4 separate regions of the Homo sapiens genome follow, and all the other regions are linked to region 2. The links are contacts of gene promoters, found by promoter capture Hi-C in human tissues and cell types (Jung and others, 2019). All regions are on one chromosome and are shown on one strand. The core of a region is centred on a gene start or on the middle of the fragment in contact, and the rest is flanking DNA. Distances in the headings are between cores, read along the strand shown. Region 1 holds the start of SCARF1 (scavenger receptor class F member 1). Region 2 holds the start of TSR1 (TSR1 ribosome maturation factor). Region 3 holds the start of SERPINF2 (serpin family F member 2). Region 4 holds the start of SLC43A2 (solute carrier family 43 member 2).

Region 1 (4,951 bases), core at 1,096-3,595, 690 kb after region 2:
TCAGGGAAGAGCTGCGTGCACAGGTACCAGGAGTGAGGACTGCGGCTGGCATCTCCACTGCTGGCATCCCCATGGCTGGCATCACCAGGGCTTTCTCCCTCCCTGCCCCTTTTCTTTAGGGAGCTGCTCACAGACCACCGGGTCCCCGGCCTTCTGCTCGAGGCCATGAAGGTGGCTGTCCGGAAGCAGCGGAAGAAGATCAAGGCCAAGATGTTAGGGACACCAGAGGAAGCAGAGAGCAGGTAGGTCCCTGCCTGCATTCCCACGGAGCCAGGCCTCCCTCCCTCATTCTGCTGAGCCTGATGACCCAGCCTGGTCACCCTCTGAGCCCATTGTCTCAGACTGAGGCTGTCACCCCAACCCGGTCACCCCTTGAGCCTCCCTAGCCTGGCCGCTTCTAGGGCCTGCTGACCTGCTCTGGCTGTGTCCCATGGCCGCTGTCCAGCCTGCGCCCTTCTCCCTGGATCTCACCACTCCCCTTGCCTTGCCTGCCATCCATTCTGCCTGACAACACTGCCTCTCCACATTCATTCTTCAAGTTCCTGTCTTGGCTGGGTCTGTTTATTCTTACGGGGGTGAAACTGTAGCCGCGGCTGTGTCAGGGCCTGCTGTGTGTCAAGCTATAAAATAAACCCTTGGCAGGGCGCGGTGGCTCACGCCTGTAATCCCAGCACTTTGAGAGGCTAAGGTGGGTAGATCACCTGAGGTCAGGAGTTCGAGACCAGCGTGGCCAACATGGTGAAACTCCGTCTCTACTAAAAATACAAAAATTAGCCGGGCATGGTGGCATGTGCCTATAATCCCAGCTACTCAGGAGGCTGCGGCAGGAGAATCGCTTGAACTTGGGAGGCGGAGGTTGCAGTGAGCTGAGATCGCACCACTGCACTCCAGCCTGGGCGACAGAGTGAGACCCTGTCTCAAAAAAAAAAAAATTAAAAATTAAAGGCTCGACATCCTGCATCTCCCCAGGGTTGCCTTCTCTCCAGCCCCGGGGGCCCTGCAGTCCCTCCATCCCCCCTGCTGGATTCCTGTTGTCCCTCAGGGCCTTGATCAATGGCCCTCACTTCTCCTCTCTCCTCTGTCTCAGTGAGGATGAGGCTGGCCCATGGATCCTGCTCTCCGATGACAAGGGAGACCATCCCCCACCCCCGGAGTCCAAAATACAGAGTTTGTATGTTGGGGAAAGGGGAAAGGCAAGAGTGTGGGGAGGGAGGAAGGGCCCTGGCTGGTCCTTCTCAGGATCCCCTTTCCCGCTTCTCTGCCCGTCACCCTGCTGTGCTTGGCTCTAAGCACACCGTCCCCTCCTGCTTCTCTGGCCCTGGCCCCCATCACCTTCACACTCCCTCAGGCTGCCCTTTCTTCCCCCTCTCCCCTTTTCTCACCATCCCCTGCCCTCACCCATATCCTTGACCTCTCTGGCTTCCTGGCTCAAAGTGCCTCTGGCTGTCTCTCTCCAGCTTTGGCCTATGGTATCGGGGTAAAGCTGAATCCTCTGAGGATGAGACCAGCAGCCCTGCACCCAGCAAGCTAGGGGGAGAAGAGGAGGCCCAACCACAGTCTCCAGCTCCTGATCCGCCCTGTTCTGCCCTCCACGAACACCTTTGTCTGGGGGCCTCAGCCGCCCCAGAGGCCTGACTTAGGGGTCTGGCTGTGGAAGGATGTGTGGCCTCAAATGAGGACAGGGCTCCCGCCTTCACAGCCCTCGCCAGGGGTCTGCCCCAATCCTGGCCTGCATCAGGGCAGGACGGGGTCTCAGCCCGCCTCCCTCTCTACGTCTCTGTACCGAGCCTCTGGGGCCAGATATAAGAGTGCCTCTCTGAGTCTCAGTTTCCCCATCCATGAAATGAGAGCTGACTGCCTAGCTCCCAGGGCTTTGTGCAGACGGCCTGAGCTCATGTAATAAAGAACTGCCCGTAATACACAGAAACTGTTCCTCGCCTGTCTGTCCATGTCTGTGCCACCTCCCAACCCTGCCAGGAGCAGAGGCAGGCTGAGGGGTCCTCGCTGGTCTCCTTGCTCAGTCACTGGGTGGGGTGGCTTCTTGCAGCTCAGGCCTTGCTTTGGGAGTGTGGCCTGATGGAAAGCCGTGGCTCCCAGCCTCAGTCCACCCCCTTCCCTGGCCCCGGCACCCAGGGACCTGCAACTTCATTCTTCTGGCCCTTCCAGGCCCAGGCCAGTCAGCCCTGCCATTGCCTTTCTTTCCCTTTCTTTTTTTGAGTGTCAGTCTTTCCAGCCACCCCCTCCCTCTCAGGGAGGTGCCTCGTGGCAGCCCGCCCCTCCGGCCTGGTTTCCTCAGGAAAAGCCCTGAGAGGAAGCAGGGAGGGGGTTGGGAGCTGTGGGGGCCAGACGAACCCGAGCGCTCCCACCGAGCTGCCTGCCATGGGGCTGGGGCTGCTGCTCCCGCTGCTGCTGCTCTGGACTCGGGGGACTCAGGGGTCCGAGCTGGACCCCAAAGGGCAGCACGTCTGTGTGGCCAGCAGGTGGGTCTCGTGGGAGTCTGATGCGTGTGGCCAGCAGGTGGGTCTCGTGGGAGTCTGATGCGGGTGGCTGAACCGGTGTTGAGGCCGTTAGGGGAAGGAGGAGACTAGGAAGGGGGCTTAGGCTGAAAGGAAGGGACTGCTGATGGCGGTCTGGCAGGTAGTGGCCAGCCAGGGCAGATGGTGGAAGGGTCAGGGAAGGAGAGGGGAGGGGCTGGGGACCCTAGCTGTAAAGATCCATTAGGCCTCCCCAGGGGGCTAAGGCAGCCTCCCCCACTGCAGCCAGAGACAGTGATCCACCTTCCTCAGGGCCAGGCTGCACCCCCCACCATGTCCGGCTGACCCCTTTTTGCCCCACAGCCCCTCTGCTGAGCTGCAGTGCTGCGCAGGCTGGAGGCAGAAGGATCAAGAATGCACCATCCGTGAGTAGCCAGGACAGACCCTCAGCCAAGGAGAAGGGAGGCCGTAGCCCAGTGACAACCCTTCCTTCCTACCCCATGGGGCCTGCCCCTCCTGATACCAGGAGTCAGGGTTTCTCCTGTGACGCACCCCCAGGCCTGAAGGGGCACCTCTTGAGGAGGCATGGCCCCTGGAGCCAGTGAGAGGGCAGGGGTGTCCCCTGGTCCTGCTCCCGTCTTTCCAACCTGGGTGGGGTGTCTTTCAGCCATCTGTGAGGGGCCGGACGCCTGCCAGAAAGACGAGGTGTGTGTGAAGCCGGGCCTCTGTCGATGCAAGCCTGGATTCTTTGGGGCCCACTGCAGCTCCCGTGAGTCTCAAGGGCCAGATGAAGTTGCTGGGCAGAGCTGGGTACGGGGGCAGTGGTGTGGGAGCAGGCGAGGCAGGTAGCCATGCAGCCTCAGGACAGCAGGGCCAGAATCCCCCCCAGCTTCACTGAGGAATTGCGGTCCAGAGACAGGAAGTGACACACACTCCCGGGAGATGACCTGAGTCACCGGGTTTTTACCCACATCCACAAAGCACTGCCCACCTGAGCATCTTCCTCTTCCACTTCTCAGAAAACCTGTGATTCCCCTTCATTGTAAAATGAGTGTATTACTTGCCTTTCCCACATATACCTTATACATGGGCAGTGGATGGAAGGGGGCCCCTGGCTGGGCTCTCTGCCCTCTCTGGCAGAAAGAGAGGGAAGGGAAAGGGGTTGGGAAGCAGGAGAGCCAGAGGGTGGGCATCAGGAATCAAGGAATCACTAGGGGAAAGGTGGCTTCTCCCGACACCCTGGCGGGCAGTATCCAGGCCTGAGATCAGGAGAAAGCCAGCTCTCCTCCAGCCCAGCAGAGATCCATCTCGGCAGGGAGGAGCAGGCATGGAGGAAGGCCCACCAACCTCGGTGCCACGCTCTGGGCAAGTCCCCTGCCCACTCAGGATCTCTGAGTGTGTTCTGGAATGTGAAGTGGCAGGCTGAGCCTCCCACTAATGGCTAAGGGTTTTCTGTAGGTCAGAGCGGAGCAGGAAGTGAGTGTTGCCCAGGACAGGCTGCCGGATGTTCTGAGGGTCTGTCCCCGGCTCTTGGAGGATGGGCCCAGCGCCCCTTTTCCTTGAGGAAGGGGACGCAGGGTAAGGGTCTGCGCGCGGCCCTGAGCCCGCTGACCCCTCCCGTCCCCACCCCCGCAGGCTGCCCGGGCCAGTACTGGGGCCCCGACTGCCGTGAGAGCTGCCCCTGCCACCCGCACGGCCAGTGCGAGCCAGCCACGGGCGCGTGCCAGTGCCAGGCCGACCGCTGGGGAGCCCGCTGCGAGTTCCCGTGCGCCTGCGGCCCCCACGGGCGCTGCGACCCCGCGACCGGCGTGTGCCACTGCGAACCCGGCTGGTGGTCGTCCACGTGCCGCCGCCCGTGCCAGTGCAACACCGCGGCGGCGCGCTGCGAGCAGGCCACGGGCGCCTGCGTGTGCAAGCCGGGCTGGTGGGGGCGCCGCTGCAGCTTCCGCTGCAACTGCCACGGCTCCCCGTGCGAGCAGGACTCCGGCCGCTGCGCCTGCCGGCCGGGCTGGTGGGGTCCCGAATGCCAGCAGCAGTGCGAGTGTGTGCGGGGCCGCTGCAGCGCCGCCTCCGGCGAGTGCACCTGCCCGCCCGGCTTCCGCGGAGCGCGCTGCGAGCTGCCCTGCCCGGCAGGCAGCCACGGGGTGCAGTGCGCACACAGGTGAGCGGGCGGGGCGGGGACAGGTGGGCTGGCGGGGCGGGGGCGGACACAAGTGAGCAGGCGGGGCGGGGCGGAGACAGGGGGGCGGGGCGGAGACAGGGGGCGGGGCGAAGACAGGTGGGCGGGGCGGACACCGGTGGGCGGGGCGGACACCGGTGGGCGGGGCGGGCACCGGTGGGCGGGGCGGACACCGGTGGGCGGGGAGGGGGCGGGGTGGAAACTGGTGAGCGGGCAGGGTGGGGGCGGGGCGGGCACAGGTGAGCGGTCGGGGGAGGGGGCGGAGGCGGACACAGGTGAGCGAGGCTGCGCGGAGACC
Region 2 (4,573 bases), core at 591-3,090:
CCCTGGCTAAGGAGGTGGGCGTGGAGGGAGAAACTGAGGTGTGCGGCGCACCCCTCCGGCAGCGATCACTCCGTAGCTGGAGGCACAGCGGACGTCGGACAAGGGGGAGCTCAGCCCGCACGACACCCACTTAGGACGTGGGGAAGCTCGGCCCGCACGACACCCACCTGCGCCGCGGGAGCTCGCGCGGGGCCCCGCCCCCTCCCCTGGCGGCGCGGGCACTGAATGGGCAGCTCCGGATCCAGCCATCCCCGCCATCGCCGCCACCCCTCCCCCGGCCTTGGGCTCCCAGCGCCGCTGCCGTCACTGGGCGGGGAGCTGCGGGGCTGCGAAGCAAACAAGCCGGGAGCGCCGGCCGGGTCCCCCGGGCAGAGGGGCGCTGCCCTCCCCCATCCGAGAAAGGGGAAGGAGGCGCAGCCCGTCCAGGACCCGCCCCGCCCGGCCCAGGTTCGGCCCGGGTGCCCGCGCCGGGGGGTGGGCGCGGACCTTTCTGCCCCCTGGGCCGCGCGGGCCAGGGCGCGAGCCCCCCGGGGTTCTTGACTCGACTTTACCTCCTTCTTCACGTTCCACAGCAGTTTCTCTTTGACTGCGTCCTCTGCGCTGCCCATGGTGTGGCAGGAGGCGGCGCCGAGCGGTCCTCAGAGCCCCCGCGCCCTCGCCGCCTCCGCGCCTCTCGGCTCAGCGCCCCACGCGCAAGGCGGAGCCCCCGCCCGCCGCGCTCCCGGCCCGCCGCCGCCGCCGCCGCCGCAGCCACTGCCCGGTGCTCGGCTCCGCAGCCATCTTCCGAGCCCCGCACAGACGTCAGGCGGCAGGCCCGGCCCCTTCCCACAGCCGGAGGGGGGTTGCGCACAGCGACGGGGGATCGGGGCGGGGAGAGGCCGTGCGCGCCTAGGGGCGGCAGACCCGGGCGCGCGCCACGGGGGTCGCTGTCATGGCAACGCACCCGCTCCCGCATGGAGGGCGCGAAGCCGCATTGTGAGCGCTGGCCCTGGAGCCCGCGGCCCCGCGGCTGAGAGCGAGCCTCGGTCCCGCTGAAGCTCCCCTGACTTCTGCCTGCTCCCTCTCCCGACGGGACGGAAAGGGCCGGGGCTCGGGCATGGGGTCCCCTGCGGTCCGAGCCTGCCCACGGCGAAGCCGGTGCAGCCTGGCCCCGTGACCCCTCTGAATCCCCGTCCGGCCGTCGCCGTGCAGTTGTCAAGTTTCTGGGAAGATTAGTGGGAGCGCAGCCGCCCGAGCCCGACGGCCGGAGGGTCGCGGCCAGTCCCCCTTGCCGGGTCGCCACGTCCCACAAGGTCCTTCCCGGCCGCTCCGTGGGAGGCGGGGCGCAGGTTGGAGTAACAGGGACGGGCTTGAGCTGGTACGGAACCGGGCAAGGTGAGAGAAGTGTCTTCCACGCGATTCCCAAGCCTCGCTAGGGAATCGAGGGAGAAGAAAGGTTGCTCAGAGTGATAAAGAACATGCCGTTGCAAACGGAAGAGCAACGTGCCCGAATCTAGGTGACAGGAAGGGCTTAGGCCTTTTCGGCACGAATGGAGCCTTCCAGTCAACATGCTTCTACGTGATGCAGCTTTATAGCGCAAAAAAATGACAATGCAAGGGGTACAAACAGCCCTGCTAGACCAACAGCCCGAGCCTCGACAGTCTACATCCGGCGCCTTCAAGCCCCCAACCACACACTGCGAAGTGGGAAAAGTTCCCAGCGCGGCTTGGCGAACCCGCTAACACGGCGCTCTCACGAGCTGCTGGAAAAGACCTTCGCGAGAGGGCGCAGGGAGTCCCGCTCCCTGGAGGGCCCGCCCCCTTGGAGGGGACCGGAAGCGCTTGTCCTGGCCCGGAAGCAGTGCTGACTCCGTACACGCGCGCTGCGGCATGGCGGCCCACCGCCCCGGCCCGCTCAAGCAGCAGAATAAAGCTCATAAAGGCGGACGGCATCGGGGTCGGGGATCTGCACAGCGGGACGGCAAGGGTAAGGAGATAACGTAGAAGGAATAAGGGCTATTTGGCCGTTATTAACTCTTTTTCCTCATGCCCAGACTGAGCTTCTGTCTCCCGTCTGGGCTCCACGCGAAAGGCCCTTTCTAAGGTGGGCGGAGAGGAGTCCCTTTTCTTGACCTTGTGGGGCCGATCACACCAGCCCCTTCTAATCTGCCATTCAGGCCGTCTGGCACTGAAAACCCTAAGCAAGAAGGTGAGAAAAGAACTCAGCAGAGTCGACCAGAGGCATCGCGCCAGCCAGCTCCGAAAGCAGAAGAAGGAGGCGGTGAGAGGAGCGGGATTTGGGAGAATGCGGCTTCTCTGGTGTTCTAGGTGGCTAATGCCTCGAAGTGGAAAATGAGACCGGGAGGAGGGTCCAGGGACAGAGCATAGCCCTAGAGCACGTGTCGAGCGTGCAGGTCTAGCATTCTTTGCTTTGGTCAGAATTCCTGCCACCCCGCTGGCATACCTGTGGTCTTTTACTAGAGAGATGCTGGTTTTGGGTAGGGGGAGCATCTGTGGGAGTGGAAATGCAATGCTGGAGTGAAGTACTGAGACACTGAGATGTTCTCGGATATCTTTCTATTTTCAGGTTCTGGCAGAGAAGAGACAGCTGGGTGGCAAGGATGGCCCTCCTCATCAGGTACTGGTGGTGCCCCTGCACAGCAGAATTTCCCTGCCAGAGGCCATGCAGCTGCTTCAAGATAGGGACACTGGAACAGTACACTTGAATGAATTGGGAAACACCCAGAACTTTATGCTGCTGTGCCCCCGCTTGAAACATCGGTGGTTTTTCACCTCAGCAAGGCCAGGTTAGAGTATACACCAATATTTTGTATTATGTTTGAGTAGTGGTATTTTTTTTTTTTTTTTTTAGAATAATGTGCTGGTGCCAACCACCTCTTCTTACTGTGTCTTCTATCTGCAGGGGATCTGCACGTTGTGTTAGACATGGCTAAAGTAGCTGATACCATCCTGTTCCTCCTTGATCCACTAGAAGGCTGGGACAGCACCGGTGATTACTGTCTTTCCTGCCTCTTTGCTCAGGGCCTTCCGACCTATAGTAAGTGAGTTAGCATTTATTGTGCACCTTTAATTTGTCAGGCACTATGCCTGGTATTTGATACAGGAATACAACTGATGGATCATATTCAGCTGGTGGTGGGATGTACACATATGGATTAAACTTGATCCATTGTTTACAGATTATCACTCAGGGTGTCTTTTTGTTTTTGGCTGTCCTTTGCCCAGAGAAACAAGGATATGAAGTTTGATTTCACTGTGAAATTCCTTCAGGGTAGTTCAGTGTTGGGCTTCCCAGTGATCTCTGGGCTTGCAACTGAGCTATTAGGTTGTTTGTGAACTGCAGAGGGATTTTTATGTAATGAAGCAGTAGGTCATGAAGCGTTTTCTCTTTCGCTTACAGCACTAGCTGTCCAGGGGATTTCTGGCCTCCCACTGAAGAAACAAATAGATACCAGGAAGAAGCTAAGTAAAGCAGTGGAGAAGCGCTTTCCGCATGACAAACTCCTCTTGTTAGACACTCAACAGGAGGCAGGGATGCTGCTTAGGCAGTTGGCTAACCAGAAGCAACAGCATCTTGCTTTTCGAGATCGGCGGGCCTACCTATTTGCCCATGCTGTTGATTTTGTTCCTAGTGAAGAGAATAACTTGGTGGGCACCTTGAAAATTTCAGGCTATGTTCGAGGGCAGACTCTGAATGTCAATAGGTTGCTGCATATCGTTGGATATGGTGATTTCCAGATGAAACAGATAGATGCCCCCGGAGACCCTTTCCCTTTAAATCCTAGAGGAATTAAACCCCAAAAGGACCCAGACATGGCAATGGAGGTAAGACTGATATTCTTAATTCATGTTCATATGAAAGTTGGCACAGGAAGGAAACTTAAATTCAGAGAAGATAGTCTGTACACTTAGGTGAATGAGGAGACTGCTAGTCTGAAGTAAGGCAATAGTCAGTTATAAATAGGTTGATAAATCACATATTTATCCAGCACTTTCTAGGTAGTCTGCACTGTGATTGGCTCTGAGTTTATAGAACACACTCAAGATGTGGTTGCTTTCCTCAAGGGACTTAATTGGGCTGGAACAAAATGGCATGTGTGAAATAAAGATTGAGATAGCATATGGTTAGAGTGCGGACCAGCAGTGGAAGTTGAGAAAGTAGACTAGCAAGCTTCACATAAGAGATCAGACTTGAGCTAGGTGTTGAGAAGGATAAATGTGATTTATGAGTTGAAGAGGGATAAAAGAATATCCTAGAAGATAAGAGACAGAATGAACCTAGGCACAGTGGTGGATCAAAGGGTTTATGTGAACCTTGAAGAAATCAGCTTGATGGGAGTGAGGTACGTAATAAATGGATAGGAGTGGGAGCAGATTAAGAAAGACCTCAAGAGCCAAGCAGAGACTTAAAATACCCTGGAAATTAGAAAACAGCCATTGGAAAAGTTTTGACAAGTTTTAGCATTCTGTCGCACTCATCTTATACATGAGGACTGATATTTCTGGGTCTTTCTGGTTACTGTGTTAGATTTAGGAGATTTTTGGTTCATGGTTGACTATCACCTGCTTTTGG
Region 3 (4,996 bases), core at 21-2,520, 590 kb after region 2:
GGTGGATCACCTGAGGTCGGGAGTTCAAGACCAGCCTGGCCAACATGGTAAAACCCCATCTCTACTGAAAATACAAAATTAGCCAGGCGTGGTGGTGGGCCCCTGTAATCCCAGCTACTCGGGAGGCTGAGGCAGAGAACTGCTTGAACCCGGGAGGCGGAGGTTGCAGTGAGCCGAGATCACGCCACTGCACTCCAGCCTGGGCGACAGAGCAAGACTCTGTCTCAAAAAAATAAATAAGACCATCTTTGTAAACCCTGAGTACAATGCTTGGCACTCCCCCGATGGCTGGGGTCAGCTTGGCTCAAGGCCACCTCTTCTGGGAAGCCTGCCCTGAAGCCTCCACCGCAGAGCTCCAACACAGAGCTCCTACCCAGCCTGCTGCATCCATTTAGCCTGTCTTTTTTTTTTTTTTTTTTTTTTTTGAGATGGAGTTTCATTCTTATCATGCAGGCTGGAGTGCAATGGCACGATCTCGGCTCACTGCAACCTCCACCTCCTGGGTTAAAGCGATTCTCCTGCCTCAGCCTCCCGAGTAGCTGGGATTACAGGCATGTGCCACCATGCCTGGCTAATTTTGTATTTTTAGTAGAGACAGGGTTTCTCCATGTTGGTCAGGCTGGTCTCGAACTCCTGACCTCAGGTGATCCACCTGCCTCAGCCTCCCAAAGTGCTGGGATGACAGGCATGAGCCACCACGCCTGGCCCCAACCCGTCTTTCTCAGGCTGGTCAGGTCTTGCCCACAAGGCTGGACATACCTGTGAGGCCCTGAGGTCTCACCATGGGTGGCAAGGCAGCCAGAGAGCTGCCTTTTGACCCAGCAGCAGAGCCCAGTGAATGACTCTGGCCAGAGCCACCTCTGCACTTAGGAGCATCACAGGCCTCTGCTCCAGGCTGGCTCTGGGAAGGGCAGGTGTTGGTCTCAGGAGGATAAGTCAGAGCAGGTCTCAGCTACCTCCAGCCCACCCCCATCTTGGGGCCAACCCTTCTGGAGGATCCTTTGGTCCCCCCGGCCCCACCCCCATCCCACACAAGAGCCCTTGGCCAGGGCCCCGACTCCGACCTGGGCATTAGAATCTTCTTGCCAAGAACAGGCTCCAGTTTTTCAAGTCCCAGAAGAGGCTGGGGAGTGACAGGCCTCCTGAATAAATCCCAGACCCCTCAGCCAGGGAGGCAGCTCCCTCCTCCTCTCCTACCCAAGGAGCAGGCCGAGCAGCCCCTCCCCTCATACCTCTGCGGGCTCCTTGCTGCCACACACAACGTTCCTCTGGCCCCACTTGGGTGCTCCTCACTCTCTGCCCAGGCTCCAGCTGGCCCAGCCCACCCCTCCCCTCCCACCAGGACCTTTACTCTCAGCCAACCCCTGTTCAGATTGCTTTCTCTTCTGGTAAATATTGACTTGCACATCCAGTTAAACATTGATCTTGAAGCCAGAAGCCCCTTTCCCACCAGGGCATCTAACCCTGAGGCAGCCACGCAGAACCCCCTATATTTGGGTCCCCCCCCCCGAGCCTGGAAAGAGAAAGTTCAGGAGGAGAGAGTTGAAGAGACTGGATCTGGCTAGCCAAGAGGGCGGATCCAGAAAGCACAGGAACCTAGCACTGTGTTAAGCCTTCCAGAGACCCCACGAGGTGTGGATTATCCCTGGTTCAGCCAGGCTCAGAGAGGCCATGTGACCTGCCCAAGGACACAGAGCTGGGCTGAGGCACATCCAGATTCTCACTCCCAATGTCCTTTCTTCTCCCAGAGAGCTGCCTCCCGCTCCTGAGGGGAGGAAAGGGGAAGCCACAAGAGCCTATGCAGAGAGCCCAGGATAGGAAGCCCACCCCCAACCTTCCAAGCCCAGGATCAGGTTGGCTGCCTTCAGACTGGGATGGAAGGCAGGGGGTGAGGGAGGAGAAATGAGAGGGACTCAACTTCTCCCACCGTCCTGCCACTCCAGAGCAATGTCTCTTTCCCCTACCCAAGAGCGAGGGTTCTGGAAACTGACCTGGGGCTGTATGAACCAGAAGCCTGGCAGCCCGTGCAAAGATCAGGCTGCTTCCCACCCTCACTGTCCGGCTCCTCACTCCCTGCATCAGGCTCCTTCCCACCCTCACTGTCCTGCTCCTCACTCCCTGTATCAGGCCCCTTCCCACCCTCACTGTCCTGCTCCTCACTCCCTGCATCAGGCCGCTTCCCGCCCTCACACCTGCTCCTCACTCCCTGCATCAGGCTCCTTCCCACCCTCACTGTCCGGCTCCTCACTCCCTGCATCAGGCTCCTTCCCACCCTCACTGTCCGGCTCCTCACTCCCTGCATCAGGCTCCTTCCCACCCTCACTGTCCTGCGCCTCACTCCCTGCATCGGGCCACTTCCCACCCTCACTGTCCTGCTCCTCACTCCCTGCATCAGGCCGCCTCCCACCCTCACTGTCCGGCTCCTCACTCCCTGCATCAGGCCGCCTCCCACCCTCACTGTCCTGCTCCTCACTCCCTGCATCAGGCTCCTTCCCACCCTCACTGTCCTGCGCCTCACTCCCTGCATCAGGCCACTTCCCACCCTCACTGTCCTGCTCCTCACTCCCTGCATCAGGCTCCTTCCCATCCTCACTGTCCAGCTCCTCACTCCCTGCATCAGGCTCCTTCCCACCCTCACTGTCCGGCTCCTCACTCCCTGCATCAGGCTCCTTCCCACCTTCACTGTCCTGCTCCTCACTCCCTGCATCAGGCTCCTTCCCACCCTCACTGTCCTGCGCCTCACTCCCTGCATCAGGCTCCTTCCCACCCTCACTGTCTTGCGCCTCACTCCCTGCATCAGGCCCCTTCCCACCTTCACTGTCCTGCGCCTCACTCCCTGCATCAGGCTCCTTCCCACCCTCACTGTCCGGCTCCTCACTCCCTGCATCAGGCCCCTTCCCACCCTCACTGTCCTGCGCCTCACTCCCTGCATCAGGCCCCTTCCCACCCTCACTGTCCTGCGCCTCACTCCCTGCATCAGGCTCCTTCCCACCCTCAGTGTCCGGCTCCTCACTCCCTGCATCAGGCCCCTTCCCACCCTCACTGTCCTGCGCCTCACTCCCTGCATCAGGCCCCTTCCCACCCTCACTGTCCTGCGCCTCACTCCCTGCATCAGGCTCCTTCCCACCCTCACTGTCCGGCTCCTCACTCCCTGCATCAGGCCCCTTCCCACCCTCACTGTCCTGCGCCTCACTCCCTGCATCAGGCCCCTTCCCACCCTCACTGTCCTGCGCCTCACTCCCTGCATCAGGCCACTTCCCACCCTCACTGTCCTGCGCCTCACTCCCTGCATCAGGCCACTTCCCACCCTCACTGTCCTGCGCCTCACTCCCTGCATCAGGCTCCTTCCCACCCTCACTGTCCTGCGCCTCACTCCCTGCATCAGGCTCCTTCCCACCCTCACTGTCCTGCGCCTCACTCCCTGCATCAGGCCGCCTCCCACCCTGACTGTCCTGCTCCTCACTCCCTGCATCAGGCTCCTTCCCACCCTCACTGTCCTGCGCCTCACTCCCTGCATCAGGCCGCCTCCCACCCTCACTGTCCTGCGCCTCACTCCCTGCATCAGGCTCCTTCCCACCCTCACTGTCCGGCTCCTCACTCCCTGCATCAGGCTCCTTCCCACCCTCACTGTCCGGCTCCTCACTCCCTGCATCAGGCCGCCTCCCACCCTCACTGTCCTGCTCCTCACTCCCTGCATCAGGCTCCTTCCCACCCTCACTGTCCTGCGCCTCACTCCCTGCATCAGGCCCCTTCCCACCCTCACTGTCCTGCGCCTCACTCCCTGCATCAGGCTCCTTCCCACCCTCACTGTCCGGCTCCTCACTCCCTGCATCAGGCTCCTTCCCACCCTCACTGTCCTGCGCCTCACTCCCTGCATCAGGCCACTTCCCACCCTCACTGTCCTGTGCCTCACTCCCTGCATCAGGCTCCTTCCCACCCTCACTGTCCTGCGCCTCACTCCCTGCATCAGGCTCCTTCCCACCCTCACTGTCCTGCGCCTCACTCCCTGCATCAGGCCGCCTCCCACCCTCACTGTCCTGCTCCTCACTCCCTGCATCAGGCTCCTTCCCACCCTCACTGTCCTGCGCCTCACTCCCTGCATCAGGCCGCCTCCCACCCTCACTGTCCTGCGCCTCACTCCCTGCATCAGGCTCCTTCCCACCCTCACTGTCCGGCTCCTCACTCCCTGCATCAGGCCACCTCCCACCCTCACTGTCCTGCTCCTCACTCCCTGCATCAGGCTCCTTCCCACCCTCACTGTCCGGCTCCTCACTCCCTGCATCAGGCTCCTTCCCACCCTCACTGTCCTGCGCCTCACTCCCTGCATCAGGCCCCTTCCCACCCTCACTGTCCTGCGCCTCACTCCCTGCATCAGGCTCCTTCCCACCCTCACTGTCCTGCGCCTCACTCCCTGCATCAGGCCGCCTCCCACCCTCACTGTCCTGCGCCTCACTCCCTGCATCAGGCCACTTCCCACCCTCACTGTCCTGCTCCTCACTCCCTGCATCAGGCTCCTTCCCACCCTCACTGTCCTGCGCCTCACTCCCTGCATCAGGCTCCTTCCCACCCTCACTGTCCTGCGCCTCACTCCCTGCATCAGGCTCCTTCCCACCCTCACTGTCCTGCGCCTCACTCCCTGCATCAGGCCGCTTCCCGCCCTCACACCTGCTCCTCACTCCCTGCATCAGGCCACTTCCCACCCTCACTGTCCTGCTCCTCACTCCCTGCATCAGGCTCCTTCCCACCCTCACTGTCCGGCTCCTCACTCCCTGCATCAGGCTCCTTCCCACCCTCACTGTCCTGCTCCTCACTCCCTGCATCAGGCTCCTTCCCACCCTCACTGTCCTGCGCCTCACTCCCTGCATCAGGCTCCTTCCCACCCTCACTGTCCTGCGCCTCACTCCCTGCATCAGGCCGCCTCCCACCCTCACTGTCCGGCTCCTCACTCCCTGCATCAGGCTCCTTCCCACCCTCACTGTCCTGCGCCTCACTCCCT
Region 4 (4,841 bases), core at 36-2,535, 710 kb after region 2:
GCCCTGGGGTGGTGGTGGGGTTTTATTTTTGGTTTTTATTTTGGTAGAGATGGTTCTCGCCATGCTGCCCAGGCTGGTCTCAAACTCCTGTCCCCAAGTGGCCCTCCGACCTTAGCCTCCCAAACCGCTGGGATTCCAGACGTGGACACCGCGCGGCAGCCCTGGGGTGCTAAGCCAGCCCCCCGGAGCGAGCCAGGGTGACCAAGGCGATTCTGGGGCAGTCAGAGGGTCTTCCCGGGTCGGGTTAGTGCCTCGAATCCGGGGGACGAAGACGGGGAGCTGAGCTTTCGGAGCCCGGGCTTATCAGACGGGGACCCGGAGCCCCCTCGAACCCTCCCTAGCTTGTACCAGCTGGCGGACGTGGCCCGTAGCATCGCCCTGCAGAGGGGACCTTCCCTGAAAGGGACGGGGAACGGGGTGAAGGTGGCCAGCGCGGGCAGGGAGCACCCAGATGACGATCAAGGGTGGAGGGTCCCCGGAGGACCGAGCAGTGCGTGAACACGGGCGGAGAAAGGTCAGTCTGATGGGGGGAGCTCAGGAGACCCCATCCTAGGACGGGACAGACCAGCCCCAAATCCCCTTGCAGATTTCCAAGGGCCAACTTCCAGGGACCGGGCAGACGCCACCGGGGAGAGGGGAAGGGGTCGGTGCATCAGCGGGGGGCGCCACGGCTGGACCGGGTCCGGGATCCCAGGCCCCGAATACGCCGGGACGGGAACCACCGGGGCGGGGGAGCGAGGAACCAGGACCCAAAGCCCGAGGCGGCGGGGACGGCGGCGCTGCGTGGGGAGGAGGCGGGGTGGGGATTCGAGAGTGGAACCACCGTGCGGAGCCGGCGCATCTGGGCGTGGTGACCCGCGCGCAGGGGGCAGCTGGGGACGGCGGGGCGGCCGCGGGAGAGCCCGGCTGGGGGCGCTGGTGGCCCGGCGGCTTCTGGGGGGAGTCCGCTGGGGGCCGGGACGCGGAGCCGGAGCCCCAGCCTCGCAGGGTCAGGCCGCTGGAGAGGCCGCGGGGCGATGTCGCCGGGGATTCCCGGCCGCGCTGTGACTCGGGTTGAAGGCTGCAAAGCCGAGGCCCGGCCCGCAGCGCCCAGGCCCCTCCCGTCCCCCATCTCTCTTGTTTGTCTCCGAGTCCGGCCGGAACCGGCTTCTGCTCGCGGCGGGGCGGGCGGGGGGCTGGCTGCTGATTGGTCGACGCCTGTTTCCAGCCCCGCTCAGCCAATCAGCGGGCGGCAGTGTTTTCTTCTTGGGGTCGGAATAAAAGGGCTGGAATAAAAGAGGGCAGAAAAGGCGCCGGGCGGGCCCGACACACGCCGGAGGAGCCGGGTGAGCTGCAGCAGGGAGGGGATCGCGGCCGGGGCGAGGGCGCGGGGGCAGAAGCGGCCGCCGAAGGGGCGTAGGGAGAAAACGTGGGAACGAGGAGAGAGATGGAGCGATGAGGGGCCGCCAGGGAAGAGATGACGAACAGATGCGGGCTGGGGAATGGAGGCGCGGGGGTCCGAGGCCATGGAAACGGGCGAGTTGCCGGGGGAACGCCCGAGATGGGGGTCGCGCGGCTGGCTCGCGCCACCGGTTTGAACCGGCTCCTCGTCTCCCACGCTGGGTTCGCGTGGCCGCAGCGCCTAGCGACCTAGACGGCGGCCAATGGCGCGGCAGTTCCTGCGCCGTCCGGCCAATGAGCGCGCCGGGGCGGGCCGTTCCGTAGGTCTGGGCGCTGATCTTGTGGTTGAAGAAACCAGCTCTGGGGAAGGGTCTCGGGCGCGGGCGGGAGGGCACCTGTCAGGGTCCCTGGGAGAGGCAGCCCTCGGATCTGCCCCTGCCCACCTCACGCTGCGTTCCATGCTGGCCCCAGGCGATGTCAGTCCTGCTGCAGGCCAGGACTAGTTCCACGGCCCTGAGCATGCGTTAGCCCCTTCTTGCCTCCATGCCTCAGTTTACCTCGGAGTGAGCTGCGGGAGACGTCTCCCTGCCTGGCCGGGGCGGCTCTGTCGTAGCGGAGGGCAGCGGTACGAGCCGGCCGCGGGCTCGGGGTGTCCCAGGTCCGGGCAGGGCTGGGGTTCGCTTCCTCTGCTGCGCGCACCGGCCGCCGCGGCCGGGGAGGGGTGGCAATCCCGAGCCCTGCGGCAGCGGTCGGGGCTGCTGGGGGCGGCCGCAGGGGCTGGGCAAGGGCCGGCCGCTGACGCCGAGTTCTGTGCGCAGGTGGTGCAGAGCCGGAGCCGGAGCCGGAGCCGCGCCGCGCCGCACCATGGCGCCCACCCTGGCCACTGCCCATCGGCGCCGCTGGTGGATGGCCTGCACGGCCGTGCTGGAGAACCTCCTCTTCTCGGCAGTCCTCCTGGGCTGGGGCTCGCTGCTCATCATGCTCAAGTCAGAGGGCTTTTACTCCTACCTGTGTACCGAGCCAGGTGAGACAAGCGCCTGGGGTTGCGGGGGGCTCCTGGAGCTGGGGCTTTGGGAGGGGGCGGGATGGGGGCGAAGACCTAGCGAGCCACAGCACCGCATTGCCCAGTGCCTCTAGGGTATCAGAAGGCCCATCTGATCCTCACCCAGCCCTGCCGGGTACTTGTCATTGCCCCTGTTTTGTGGACGAAGACATCGAGGCTCAGAGCGATCTGTCTTGCGCAAGGCCGCAGAGCCTGGGCCTGCCATCCACCCAGAACCCCACCTGCTGTCCAGGGTGTTCCTTCCACCCGCTACGAACAGTGCTGGACTGCTCTCCTCTCCTCCCAGCCCTGGAACATAGCTTGGCTGGTAGTAAACATGTTGCTGTCTGCTTGTGAGAAAGAGGAACTCCAGATTAAGGGGCTGGGGTGCAGCAGGAGAGGAAGTGGCCTTGCCTCCACCCCAGGGAGGGCTCATCTAGAATCTAGACGTTCCTCAGGCCATTGTGGAGTCTCCTAAGTGCTTGCTGGACACAATTTCTTGTCTATTTTTGCTGCCTTATGATTCTCCAAAGGACATTTCCCCCACGGGCTCTGAGGACATCTCCGTGGCTTTCCAACCCCATGGGGATGAAGGGGAAGAGAAGAAAGGAACGTTTATGGAAATGATGCTAGGGTTGTTCTCTCCTCTTTGCCTTGTCACTGGAATTGCTGAAGGCAGGCTGAGGATGCTTCTCTACATGACATCTGCACCACCCAACACACACTTACCTTCACACCTTCATACCCTGTTGGAGGGTCCTGATGACTACAGGGCAGTAAATTCAGCCCCACAGGAGGGCCACAGCAGCCCCCAGCCTCTAGCCTCCTACCCTCCTTCTTAGGCAACCTTGACAGGAAATTTTCCCTCTGCCTTCTCCTTGATCCCAACGGTAGCTGCATAATAGCTGAGCTCACATAATCCCTGTCGCCAGTGCTAGAGTGCCCTTAGATGGAGGTAGCCCAGGTTTGACTTCCTGAATCCCCAGCAGCAGGCCTTTTCTTTCTAGAGCTCTTTGCAGGAAGAGAAAGCTTTGGACCAGCTCATGCTGGGTGTAATCCTTTGTGGAAGCCTCCCTGTTTCCCTTCTCTGATCTGCCCCGGAGATTCCTGTGTGTCCCAGTCTCTAGGGAGGGAGGCTTAGCTGGAGAGGTTCAGGGCAGGAGAAAGCAGGAGAATGCAGAGGCCGCGGGGAGAGGACAGAAAGTATATCATTTATAACTAACCTTTAGCCTTTAGCCACTCAAAAATATTTCCTAATAGCCTAAGGGTTCTTGGCAGGTCTTTCCCCACATCAGCAAGAAATCTTGGGAGTTGGGAAGAGTCAGACCTTGTTCCCTGAACAAGCTTTCTGCTTTGGCCAAGAGTTGTTAGGAGATTAATGCCTGTCCCCGAAAGGCACAGGTTGGAGTGTTTACTTCTTCCTCTCCTTTCCTCTCTCCCCCCTTAGAGATCGTGACCCTTCCTGCTTGCCTCCCTGGTGGGCTCTTTCAGGCTGGACACAGGGTTTAAAAAAAAAAAAAAAAAGCAGAAAAAAAGTCATCGTCCCCAGAGAAAGCTTTTAGTGTCTCACCCAGACCAGAGAACTGTTGTGGGCAGGTGTTTTTTTGTGTGTTTTTTTTTTAACCCACCATGATGTCGGAAGGTCAGATTCTAGGTGTTTTTTGTTTGTTTTTTGTTTTTTGTTTTTTTTTAATAGAATGTCCACGGATTTAATTGATTGTATGGTTTTGGCAGAATTGGGTCTGGTCCTTTCATTCCTGCCTCAACCTCAGCTTCCTCCTCTGTCTAAGTGGGAGGAGTCCCAGAGATTGTGCCAGCGCAGTGCTGAGTTGGTGTTTTAAGCCCTGGGCAGACTTGACAGGTAACTCCACTAAACCAAAGTGAAGGTGAAGGGTCAGGATTGTGGGTTGAACATCAACTTCTTATCCCGAACTTTTGCTCCTGCCTCCAATTTTGGTTTTTCTTATTATCTGGCAAACATGCTGAGCCCACGTTCTGGGCGGGAAGGCTGCTGATTCCACACAGCTTATCTCTCTGGTCACACTGCTCCTTGATTCTTGGAGTCTGCATCACCAGTTTTCTTTCAGGCCAGAAATCCCCGCATTTGGCTCGTCTGGGAGTGCCTGGCGAAGTTAGGGTGAAGGTTTCTGCTTCAGTCTAACATTTTCAAACTTGGTGCATGGCTGAATTGCAGAGAAGCAGATAGGCCATTTTTGAATTTATTGAATTAGACTTGTGAAAGCCTGAGCAGTGTCCGGCTGATTGAGATGCAAATTTGTCAGCTTCGTGTCACTCTAGGACGATGCTTTAGTTTGTTCTCTAAAGAAAATTTGCCTGAACCTGTTGAAAGGTTCTTAGAACTCTTTCTTACGACTCCAGCCAGAATCTCGCCACAGACACCGTGTTGGGTTCCAGCCTG

Evidence for each region. Contacts are between HindIII fragments. The study calls those that stand out against the background at their distance.
Region 1: a contact is called between the fragment with the promoter of SCARF1 here and the fragment with the promoter of TSR1 in region 2, in 5 of the 25 tissues and cell types used here (aorta, heart right ventricle, hippocampus and 2 more).
Region 3: a contact is called between the fragment with the promoter of SERPINF2 here and the fragment with the promoter of TSR1 in region 2, in 1 of the 25 tissues and cell types used here (dorsolateral prefrontal cortex).
Region 4: the fragment with the promoter of SLC43A2 here is called in contact with the fragment with the promoter of TSR1 in region 2 in 2 of the 25 tissues and cell types used here (H1 embryonic stem cells and small bowel).

What each region holds. Positions count from the first base shown.
Region 1 is chr17:1,643,126-1,648,076 of GRCh38, reverse strand. SCARF1 (scavenger receptor class F member 1) reads left to right here and starts at 2,345. Exons shown (of 11, transcript NM_003693.4): 1 at 2,345-2,480; 2 at 2,838-2,899; 3 at 3,142-3,243; 4 at 4,110-4,635. The coding sequence starts at 2,380. It overlaps RILP (Rab interacting lysosomal protein), which reads left to right. Exons shown (of 8, transcript NM_031430.3): 6 at 120-242; 7 at 1,088-1,171; 8 at 1,458-1,927. The coding sequence ends at 1,635. The HindIII fragment of the contact is 19,188 bases long and covers 1-4,951 here.
Region 2 is chr17:2,333,724-2,338,296 of GRCh38, reverse strand. TSR1 (TSR1 ribosome maturation factor) reads left to right here and starts at 1,840. Exons shown (of 15, transcript NM_018128.5): 1 at 1,840-1,966; 2 at 2,157-2,260; 3 at 2,567-2,786; 4 at 2,903-3,037; 5 at 3,401-3,825. The coding sequence starts at 1,870. It overlaps SGSM2 (small G protein signaling modulator 2), which reads right to left and starts at 796. Exons shown (of 24, transcript NM_014853.3): 1 at 552-796. The coding sequence starts at 608. RefSeq lists silencers at 113-422, 453-552, 653-762, 863-1,172, 1,203-1,332 and an enhancer at 1,563-1,672. The HindIII fragment of the contact is 7,910 bases long and covers 1-4,573 here.
Region 3 is chr17:1,739,145-1,744,140 of GRCh38, reverse strand. It overlaps SERPINF2 (serpin family F member 2), which reads right to left and starts at 1,270. Exons shown (of 10, transcript NM_000934.4): 1 at 1,233-1,270. The HindIII fragment of the contact is 23,738 bases long and covers 1-4,996 here.
Region 4 is chr17:1,625,278-1,630,118 of GRCh38, reverse strand. SLC43A2 (solute carrier family 43 member 2) reads left to right here and starts at 1,285. Exons shown (of 14, transcript NM_152346.3): 1 at 1,285-1,325; 2 at 2,199-2,404. The coding sequence starts at 2,245. RefSeq lists enhancers at 2,037-2,574, 2,575-3,112. The HindIII fragment of the contact is 9,222 bases long and covers 1-3,609 here.